2 separate regions of the Homo sapiens genome follow, and region 1 is linked to region 2. Evidence: promoter capture Hi-C in 16 types of primary human blood cells and fetal thymus (Javierre and others, 2016). All regions are on one chromosome and are shown on one strand. The core of a region is centred on a gene start or on the middle of the fragment in contact, and the rest is flanking DNA. Distances in the headings are between cores, read along the strand shown. Region 1 overlaps PDPR (pyruvate dehydrogenase phosphatase regulatory subunit). Region 2 holds the start of MTSS2 (MTSS I-BAR domain containing 2).

Region 1 (4,952 bases), core at 1,191-3,690, 530 kb after region 2:
GGCGGATGGGAACCCACACACCGAGATGAACTTTTCTCTTTCTTCCAATCTGCACCCACCATCTGACATTCTGGAGTGTAAGGCACTAGAACCTGGCTTAGAGAATAGTGGGGCTCTAAGCTCCAGTTCTTGGTGTGCAAAGGAAATTCTGACATACATCTTTTGAAAGAGATGCTAAAAAACCCTCCCTATCTCCTGTAATTTCTGTCTTTGACAGACAGGAAAATAAGAAGGCAGAAGATGGTCTGCAAAGGATAAAAACAGGTGCATCTAAGAATGAGAAAAATGGCTCATGAAGAAATGTGTAACTCTCCAAGAGATGCAGACACTCTGCTCAGAGAAGTCAAGAACCATAAACAACTCTTCATGTTTCATGGACAAAGGGAAGGCAAAGGCATACAAAAATACTCAGTTGTCTTGAAAAGTGTACTGGTAGTGATCAGGGCTACAAAGGCGAGCCCTGTACTGACAATGGAGGAGCCTTACAACTCAGCACCTTAAATTGTTGGCCTGAAGTGGTGGCGGGGAGGGAGGCGCTGACGGAGAGACCCATGGCTCACCACTTATTGCGTGTACACAAGGCCTGGGGCAAGCCTCACAAGTCTACCATTTCTTCCACTCAACTGTGCTTCTCCTGAATCCATGTGCCTGAAATGACATATGCAAGGTGAACATTCTTTATACTGTGTTAATACTGCTTATATCAATGTTCGTGAGGGGTGTGTGGGGGATGGGGTGCAGCAGGAAAATTAGAATGGCAGGAGGTTCTTATTTATTATTAAGCACTGTTGACCAAACCTCTATCTTAGATTTTTTTTTTTTTTTTTTTGAGACAAGAGTCTCACTCTGTTACCCAGGCTGGAGTGCAGTGGTGCAATCTCAGCTCACTGCAACCTCTGCCTCCTGGGTTCAAGCAATTCTCCCACCTCACTGGGCCTCCCAAAGTGCTGGGATTACAGGAGTAAGCGACCACGCCCGGCCAACCAAACCTCTATCTTAGATGTTAAAGAAGACCCTTATTGACTACACTGGCCAAGAAGCAACAGAGATATAAAGCTGAATCTTGTAGCTAACCCCTGAAAGCAAGCCAACGCAAATTCCTCCGCCAGGCCAGTCTTCTAGTGCCAATATGGAGACTGTGGGCCACAGAAGATTCCCTTCTATTTCAGGTTCTCAAAAAGTGGTGTAGACTCAGGCAAATGCCAGGAAATGTGTCCATATGCCAGAGGAGACACAGAGCCAGAAATGAAGGCTATGGGTCCTGTCTTCAGTGAAACACTGAACGCTCTCGGAAAGCTCCCATCATTCTTGCATCGCTACTGCCACCAAGACGGTGGCAAGGGAGGAGGCTAACTTTCAAATGCATGCAACGGCAGGTAATATACTGTGGAAGCTGGAGGTTTACTTTTCATGTTTTAGTTACTTTCTTGCAAACAGCAGTCCAGGAAAGCAAGCAAGCAGGTAAAACTCCGGGTGTGCATGAGGAGATGATCCAAGGCCAGTGGGCCTCCCAGTGAGAACCAAACAGGAGTGGCCAGGCTCCACTCCTGGGGCCAGAGTGAAACCGGGGTTTAATCACTGGGCTATGTGGTCTCTGTGTCTCTGGCCTGAATGAGATCTCTTCAATGTCGGGGGACAGGGATCCCTGGAAGAGCGTGAAAAATACAGTGGTCACTGTGCAGTTCTCTCTGCTGGAGCCTGTCCTGCCATCATACAAGGTGCTGTGACAGCAATGCAAGGTGAAAGGAGATCAAATGGCCCAGCTCAGCAGTTAGTGTTTGTCCCTTTTTGCTCTTCAGAGTTCCTGAATGAGAGCTTTTCTGGCTTCAGTACCAATGATCACAGAAGGAACATCTTCCTGATGCAAGCTTAGATGGAAGTCAATGACCCTGGCAGTGCTAAGAACAGAAGTCACACGTGGCCTGACGATGAAGGGGAGGTAATTAAAGACATTTCAAGGGAGGGGAAGGCCCACGGAAAACTGGCAACCCTGGGTCTCCGTTTGAGGCCAATATACTTTGTGTTCCTAGGTTCAGATGGCATACACCGACAAGAGAAGGCAGAGACCATCCTTCGTGGTGAGCACAAAATGCTATGACAGGTAATTGCAGAGAGAAAAAAGCACCCAACTCTGTAAAGCCAAGTCCAGTCACCCATTCACAAGAGTCCAAAATCCTTCAAATCTCTAGGGACAGAAGACAAACGTGCTGCCCAGAATGAGCTGAGACACAAGGCAAACCCTTGGAAATGACACATGGATGAGGAGGCTGTGGTTGTCCCTCCTTATTCCTGCTGGATTTGCAGCCACGGCTCTGGATCTGGGGCATCTACTGGCCTCCCCTGTTCACTCAAGAGGCCACTGCCTCTCAGGAGTCCAGAATGCTCTGATATCTGACACCGGTGGTCAGGAAGTTATGCTGCCCTCTCCTCTTGAACAGCTAAGATGCTTGGACACTAGACAGAGGCAAAGCAGTTATGCCAGAAGCAGGGGAGAGTCATTCACTGTCAGATCTGTCTGTTCAAAGAGCTCACATTAGACCAATCACAGAAAACCACCAGACTCACACAGCTTGTATTTGAATGAACCAGGAGAGACTTCAAGGATCAACTCTAAAGTGCTAGAAGAGAAATCTGTGTTTGGGGCACTGAATAAACAAGTGATGTCCTAGAAGATCAACACCCCATCAGTCTTAGGAGTATGACCCTATTCATGGACAAGGGGTTTCAATGGACAGCCTGAGTGCTCAGCCCCCCATCCTCCTCTCCTAGCAAGACAAGCAGTCTGTTGCTCAGAGGGGGAAACTGATGTCATTTAACAGGAGGTCAGGATTTCTGGTTCTACTTCAACAAACAGTGCATAATTTTGGACACAGCATCAGATTTCCTGACTTCTTACAAAGGACAGCTAATTAAAAACGTGTCAATCTGTAGTAATTAGTTGGAGATTAACAAGGGCAGAAGAGAATCCAAGTCTTAAAACTCTATGTGGGATACATTTCTGATGAAGCTTCTATTTGACTAATATACTGTGATGATGGCACTATTCGATTTTAAACTATGGAGACAGCTTTTATTATTTCGATTTGGATCCTGGTAAGTGGTGATACTGCTATGTAACAGTTAAAGCACAAATGTATTGCCATAGTTAAGGTTGAAGAGTTATGTCTATGTGTAACTAAATTCTTCTGGATTCAATTACAAATACGTTTTCCTTTACAAAGATGGCTTTGGAGGGGTGCAAATGCTACGTGTTTGGAAGAGCAGAGGAGGCCTGCAGCTCTCAGTCACCTGTCTCCATCTTCGGAGGTAAGTCTGCTCCCTGCTGGTAATGCCTGCATCTGCCCAAGGGCCTGTTCCTCCTCTCCCAAGGCCTTCACAGCTGGTGTTCACTGGTTGGCCCTCCAGCCGGCAACACCTCTCCTCCTCTCTGCCTAGAGGCAGCATCTCTCGGCTAGTTAAGTACATACTTGCTCCAAGACAACTAGACCCCCAAACAGAATTCTAATCATATGCTCCTCTAACAAGCCAACCAGAACCTTCCAAAAAGGTTTAGGCACTAAAGTCAGTAATCACTAGGAGTGGTCTAGTTGGGGAAGTGGCAAGAAATGTCTAGAAGGAGCCAGCGTAAGTGGGTAAACAGAGATCCCAAAGAAACACCAGAGAAGGCAGACACCTGAGCATTTTAAGCTGCTCTAATGAAATGGAAGGATGTCCCTTAATACACTTATAGACCTATCAGAGCTAATGCTTCCAAGATACCAACACGCCAAAGGCTAGAGTTTTACTAACCAAAATGTCTTATAGCAGTTTATTTGCACTTAAAAAAAGTCAGATTAGGGCAGTTGATATGCAAGGGGAAAATGAAGCATTGAGGCTGGACAACAGTCCATGATATCTAAGTTTCACCTTGGGAAAACAGAGACACTGCCTGAAAGCGCAGGGCACTTCTGGGCACCCACATTGTCTCCTGCTCCAGAGGATATGGAAGGGTGGGTGGAGGGAAACAAAGAGCCTGGGGGGAAAGGAGGAAAAGCGGTCTCTAGCCTTATGCAACGTACACCCTTTGGACTCAGAACTCTCAGTGGACTAACGTGGGTCACCTCTGTGTAGCTCTGCTCTGTGCTGGAGAGTCAAACCTGGAATTCCGGCAGCTCTCTGGAACTCAGCACAGCCCGCAAGGTTGAAAGGCCCAGGACAACACACCTGATCCCTTCCCCTCCCTATTCTAAAGGGAGAGAAACATGACTTTATGGGCCAACTGTGAAAGGGACAAGTGAGGCTGACCTGACAAAGTCAAACGCACTGGGAGAAGGGGAAGGAGGAACGGCTGAACTTTGGACAGCTGAGAGAAAAGCAGCATTGTTTCCATAGCAGAACACTCAGCATCACTGGTGGGGACTTTCTAAGGTCAGACCCTTTTGACTGGGAAAAGCAACACACAAGGCAATATGGTTTTTCCCTTTCAAACACTGTGGCTTACTTGTTTACTCAACTAAGAAAGAAAAAGCAACCTTATTATAGAGATTAGCAAGAGATGAAGAAAATTATAGGGAGGCTGCCCTGGCCCAAAGGTCTGCTAATGGCTTCTGCAGGGAGGATGAGGATGGTGCTAGGTTAACTGCTTGTCTCCACTACAGACCAGAGAACGTCCATGCGATGCCTCTTATCAGTGAGGTAGATAATCATCCTCTTGCCAGAGGTATCGAGTGCCAGCCCACAGCACAGCAGAACAGGAGAACGAGCTGCCGGGCTGCAGGCACGAGCTGCCCCTCAGGGCTGCATCCGACACACGGCAACCCCACCAGAACTAATAGGCTGCTCCAAGAAAATGGAACCCAAGGGAGAGGGACTCGTGCCCTGAGACCTGCACCACCCCGGCTTGCCCTGCCTTGAGATGCAGAATTTGAAAGCAGCTGTCACCATCACTCATGTCCACAGTGGAGCTTGCTTCT
Region 2 (5,281 bases), core at 774-3,273:
AGCCCCCAAGTCCCAGAAAGCTGACTCCCCTAGCATCGACTACGCAGAGCTGCTGCAGCACTTTGAGAAGGTCCAGAACAAGCACCTGGAAGTGCGGCACCAGCGGAGCGGGCGTGGGGACCACCTGGACCGGAGGGTTGTCCTCTGACAGGCCTGGCACGGAGGAGGGCCCACCGAGTGGTCCCATGAAACACTAAGGGTCGTCACGCCCTCCCGAGGAGCTCAAGGACCTGCCTGTCAGGACCAGGGCTGGGCCTGCCAACCCAGGGCAGTGTTGGGGCCGGAGGCTGCTGTGTCTGCCCAAGCTCCTCTCAGAGTCCAGTCCCCAGGCCTCCAGCGCTGTCAGCTGCACCCTGGCATTCTCACAGAGCTGGCTGCCCACCCAGTGGGGGGCTATAGCCTCAGAGACCACTCATCCTCTGGAATCAACCTCTTTCTAATACCCTCTTGGAAAAAGAGCTTGCCCCTCCTCCAGCACACTAGAGCTCTGGCCTTGTGTGTATATGTATACATACGTGAACACATGCCTGTGTGTGTGTGTGTGTGTGTGTACTTGTATGCACGTAGGCACCAGCACAAAGATCTGAATGATGCACCCCACCCCCACCCCAATAAAGAAATAACAGAAAACCCTCAACCCGAGCCGGCCTGCTCCTTCCCAGCTGACACGTGCAGCTGTCCGGGGGCCTCACCCTCTGTCCTGGAGATCGGGTTTCATGATGGCCCCAAGGAGTACTGGCTGCCCCAGGGCCTGGTCCCTGCACTCACCTGAGTGGAGCCATGGGCCTAGAGCCTAGGTCCCCACCTCTGGAACCTGCACCCTCCTGGAGAGCACCATGCACTGCCTGCCCTGGAATCCTGAACCCTGCCTTCCCCAATCTGCCTTTCTCATCCTGACTCCCTGGGGCAATGGGAGTTCCCCACTGGGGACATGGGAGCTGAGCCCCAGGAGTTCCTGGATGAAAGGGCAATGCACACTGCAGAACACTTTGCAGATCTCGGGGCAAGGGGAGGAAAAGCCCAGAGCAGTCCAGGGAGGGGCAGGTGCCCCAACCACTGCTGCAGCTGAAAGCCCTTCCTCACCGGGAGTGGTACCACCTGTCCCCAGGCTTTGGGAACCCTGGGCTTGGTCTCCTAATGAGCTTGTAATTGGCTCCCTCCGGCCCATGGAGTAGGCGAGAAGGAGCTTGTGCCTGCTCTTCCCCAGAGTGCGCTCCCCCATCGTGCTGCCCCCCAGGGTGGGTTTCCCTGCCTGGAGTCTCCAGGACAGGCTGCGATTGACATTGCTACCCCATGCACGTGTGTGCATCGCACCCACCGTGGACTCAGGCAGCAGAGACCAAGGACACTCCAGCTCTGCTCTGCAGGTCCGACATTAGCCCCCACCCGCGAAGAAGGAGGTTGTTCAAGGCCCAGGAGACTACCACTGCCCCCCAAATGCCCAGCCTTGGGCACCCCATCCGGGTGGCATCGGCACCACTTGGAGAAGGAGCCAAGGAACTTGGAAGGGTCCGAACTTGAGGAAGGTCTGTGCCTGCGATGAAACGTCCCAAGGCGGGCGGCTCCACGATACCCCGCGCCCTGCTGTGTGCGGTGTATGCCACCCATCCAGCCCATGCACCGACCCCATCCCGCCACTGTACCCACTGCCTGTCTTTAGAAGCGCGAGAAGCCCCCCGCCCCAGACCAAAGGCCAGAAGATATCGTGGAGCCCCTGCCCGGGGGCCGAGGCCCAACCGCCAGTCCCGCTCCTGCGTGGGCAGGGCGGGCCCCGCCCAGCGCCGCCCCCCGACCCTCGGTGGCGCCCGCGCCCGTCGGCCCCGCTCGCCGGACCAGTCTGGCAGCGCCCGGGCTCGGATTTCAAAGCCCTGGTTTCTGGCCGTGAATGGGCCTGCGCCCGCGCGGCCGTTCCCACAGCCCCCTCCCGCGCGGCCCGCCCTCCTTCCCTCCCTCCTCGCGGTCCCCCCTCCGCCGCGCCCACGTGACGCCCGATCCTCGGCGGCTCGGATTACCGCCGCCGTCAGTCCCCGCGCCGAGGCTGCGCCGCGAGCTGCCCGCGCCGCGCCCCCCGCGCCGCCCGCCAGCCCCGCTGCGACATGGCCCGCGCCGCCCGCCGGAGGCCCGCGACCCCGGAGCGCGGCGCGGCCGGCCGCTGAGCGCAGCCTGGAGGCGGGAGGCCCGGCCCGGCCTCGGAGCGAGCGCCCGCGCGGCCTGGCCCCCTCCCTTGCGCTGCTCCCCGCGCTCCGTGCGCCTAGCCGCCGCCGCGGCCCGGCCCAGCCAGAGCATGGAGACGGCGGAGAAGGAGTGCGGCGCCCTGGGCGGGCTCTTCCAGGCCATAGTCAACGACATGAAGGTAACCGGGGCGCGGCGGGGCCGGGCGCGCGGCGACGGGTGCGGGACCCCCCGGGGACGCGTGGCGGCGGGTGGCCGAGCCTCGTGTGGCCGCGCGCCGCGGTGTCTGTGTGTCCTTGTCTGAGCGCGTCCTGCCTGCGTCTGCTGGGCGCCCGTGTCTCCGGGTGCCCGTCTGGGGGTGTGGGTGCTCGTGTGTCGGGGTGTCCGTGCGGTGCCCGCGGTGGCCCCGTGGGGTCCTGACCCGAGCCTGTGCACACGCAGGCTCCCTGCGCCCCAGACCGCCAAACCATGAATGGGGTTTGGATCCAGGACCGACTCTAGGGCCCTTTAACGAGTCCGGGGTCTTACCGGCCTCCGCCCCCTTCCACCACCATGTTCCCCCACGGCCCCGGAGCCCAGACAATGCTGTCACCGCCAAAGCAGGAAAAAATAATAAAGCGGAGAACCGTTAACTCCTTCCCCGCCGACCTAGGCCTCTGCACCCGACCGTGAGACTGCGTCCCCCAGCCCCGCCCCACCCCCACAGCCCCAGGAAGCTCCAGGACTCCAAGGTCTCCAGGCTGAATGTCCCTGCATCCCAAGGATAGGCCTTGATCATCACCTTGGGAGGAGGCGGGATGAAGGTTGGGGTCGGTGGAGCAACCCCAAGGAAGCGCTTTTCCTACCCCATTACCACCCTGGGCTCTCAGCTCCGAGCCCTCCTTGTCTCCCAGGATTGCTTAAGGTCAGGCTGGATCCAACCACCCATTCATTCCTCACCCCACCAGGTGGGGAAACTGAGGCCTGGAAATGGCTCAAGGTCACTAAGGAGACTATTGGACCCTTCCCCTGACCTCAGCCCCCATTTTTCCTCCTGGGAAAATTAGTGGGTTCCTCTCCCCAAATGAGGCCAGGGTTTGGCAGGGCTGCCCTACGCTGACTAGGCAGAGAGGGCCCAGCTCCAGTGATAGGGTGGGGGCCAGGAACCAGTATTCCTGCCCTCCTGCCGTGCCCCCTTTCCTTAGCCTAGGATGAAGGGGCAGGATTTGGGGGCTGGGAGAAGGGGAAAGAACGAGGCACCCCACAGGATCTCCCAAGGGCCCCCACCCCCACAGCCCAGCGCAGATTCTCCAAGTGCACAACACAGAATCCCACCAGGCCAGGGATGGGGGTGACACCACCCAGTACAGTGCTGCTAGGACAGGCCCCGTGAGGGGTGGGGGTTGCTGGCAGGTTGGAGTTCGAGGCTCCCGGTGCTGCCAGGACAACAGCCCCAGGGACAGCTGCCAGATCTCTGCCCCCGGAAGAGGCCTGAAGCCAGCCTGGCCTGGGACTACCCAGTTAGCGGCTTGTAGATGCCCCCCACCCCCTGCCCCTCATGGTGCACTCCCCCTGGGACCCCCATCTCTTGCAACTGTACATCTGGGCCCCTCCGCTGGCCCCCAGCAGTCCCCACCTGTCCTGTGGACATCACAGCCCTGGCCCCAGGATCCTGTTAAGGGACTGGGCAACACAGACCACCCTCCCCTGGCCGATCCCAGAGCTGGCTCCGGATGGGCCTTCCCGCACCCCACCACCCACCACCACTGGCAGCCTCATAGCAACCACTGCAGAGAGCAGCAGATTTTGCTCGTGGAAGTGGACTAGGACAGTCTCTCTCCCTCTCCAGCCAATTTGCAAGGAACTTTGGGATGAGACAGAAGGAAGTGGGCCCAGATCATAGCAAGAGGTTCAAGCCAGACATCGGGCATGATTTGCTGACATGTGGAGGCAAAACAGGAGAGGCTTCACCTGGGATGATGCCAAGGACAGATTCGCCCCTACCTATGACACAGGCATGTGTTCAGGGGCCATGACCAGGGGCAGAGAAGGGGATGAGGCCACCTGGAAGCTGACCACCTGGATTTGCGGGGGCAGCTTCTGGATTTTCCCCTCGGTGGCCTGAGCAGCAGGGCCTCCGTAGAGGAAGGGCGGCCATCAGCAGCCAGGTTGAGGAGACTGAGCTTGCCCCGTGAGGCCACCCCACAGTGAGTCCACAGGCCCCACAGAAGCCCTCCCCTGGGCCTCTGGGAGGCCCTGACCTTGGGCTGAGCGGGGGCCAAGGTCAGATGCCCACTGGTGTCAGGCTGCCCATTGAAACCCAGAGAGGGGCAGAGACTTGCCAAAGGTCATAGTTCTGGGCACGGCACCTTCAGCAAGGTGAATGGGGCCTCCACCCAGTGCTGGCCCAGCCAGAAAATGGGGTCATACTCTTCACCCACCCCTCAAGAGTGGGGAATGTCACCTGGACACATAGGCCTGGCCAGGCCTCTGCTAGGGGCCCCTGCAGAGGGCAGGGCTTGCGTACTGTTAGCTGGTGTTAACTGAGCACTTACTGCGTGCTGGGCGCTGCGAGGAGTGCTGGCTGAGCAGCACCTGCTTCAATTTCCACACTGACCCAGTGGGGCAGGTGCTCCTCCTCTCCTGATTTTACAGGTGAAGAAACTGAGGCTCAGACAGGGGGCCCTTGCCCAGGGGCACCTGGAAAGCCCACTCCCTGGGATTGGAGGCTGGATTGCTCACCCACACTCCACATCTGAACCACAGCCACTGCCGGGACAGAGACAGAGTCCCCTCATCCCTGTCCACTTGGGCGCCTCTAATGAGAAGCCCCTCACCTCCCCACTCCAGAGCAGCCACTGTGCTTGGGGCAGAACTGGGTGTCTCTCACATCCCAGCAGTCCCTGCCGCCTCCCCAGCCTTGACGTTCAGTGCTTGTCTCCCTGCTTTGTAAGGGAGTCCCTCTACCTGGCGTGCAGTGACCAGGCAGACATGGGATCAGGTCCTGACCCCGCCACCCTGTGGCCGTGGGCAAATGAGCTAACCTCTACGGGCTTCTGTTTCCTTGTTGGTGAAATGGGGCTGTGGGGAAGGTTTACCTGGGCCTGTCCCAGGTGAAGGCTGAGGATGC

The links. The method cuts DNA at HindIII sites, captures the fragments that hold promoters and counts their contacts. A CHiCAGO score of 5 or more calls a contact.
Region 1: a contact is called between a fragment that was not itself captured here and the fragment with the promoter of MTSS2 in region 2, in 2 of 17 cell types (total CD4 T cells and neutrophils). The highest score is 6.0, in total CD4 T cells.

The regions. Positions count from the first base shown.
Region 1 is chr16:70,157,159-70,162,110 of GRCh38, reverse strand. It overlaps PDPR (pyruvate dehydrogenase phosphatase regulatory subunit), which reads right to left. Exons shown (of 19, transcript NM_017990.5): 19 at 1-4,952. It overlaps LOC400541 (a long non-coding RNA gene), which reads left to right. Exons shown (of 3, transcript NR_126007.1): 2 at 3,222-3,306. Among named protein-coding and RNA genes, the nearest start is that of CLEC18C, 14 kb to the left of the region's middle. The HindIII fragment of the contact is 1,139 bases long and covers 1,871-3,009 here.
Region 2 is chr16:70,682,795-70,688,075 of GRCh38, reverse strand. MTSS2 (MTSS I-BAR domain containing 2) reads left to right here and starts at 2,023. Exons shown (of 15, transcript NM_138383.3): 1 at 2,023-2,353. The coding sequence starts at 2,285. It overlaps VAC14 (VAC14 component of PIKFYVE complex), which reads left to right. Exons shown (of 19, transcript NM_018052.5): 19 at 1-637. The coding sequence ends at 148. RefSeq lists an enhancer at 1-495. The HindIII fragment of the contact is 19,223 bases long and covers 1-5,281 here.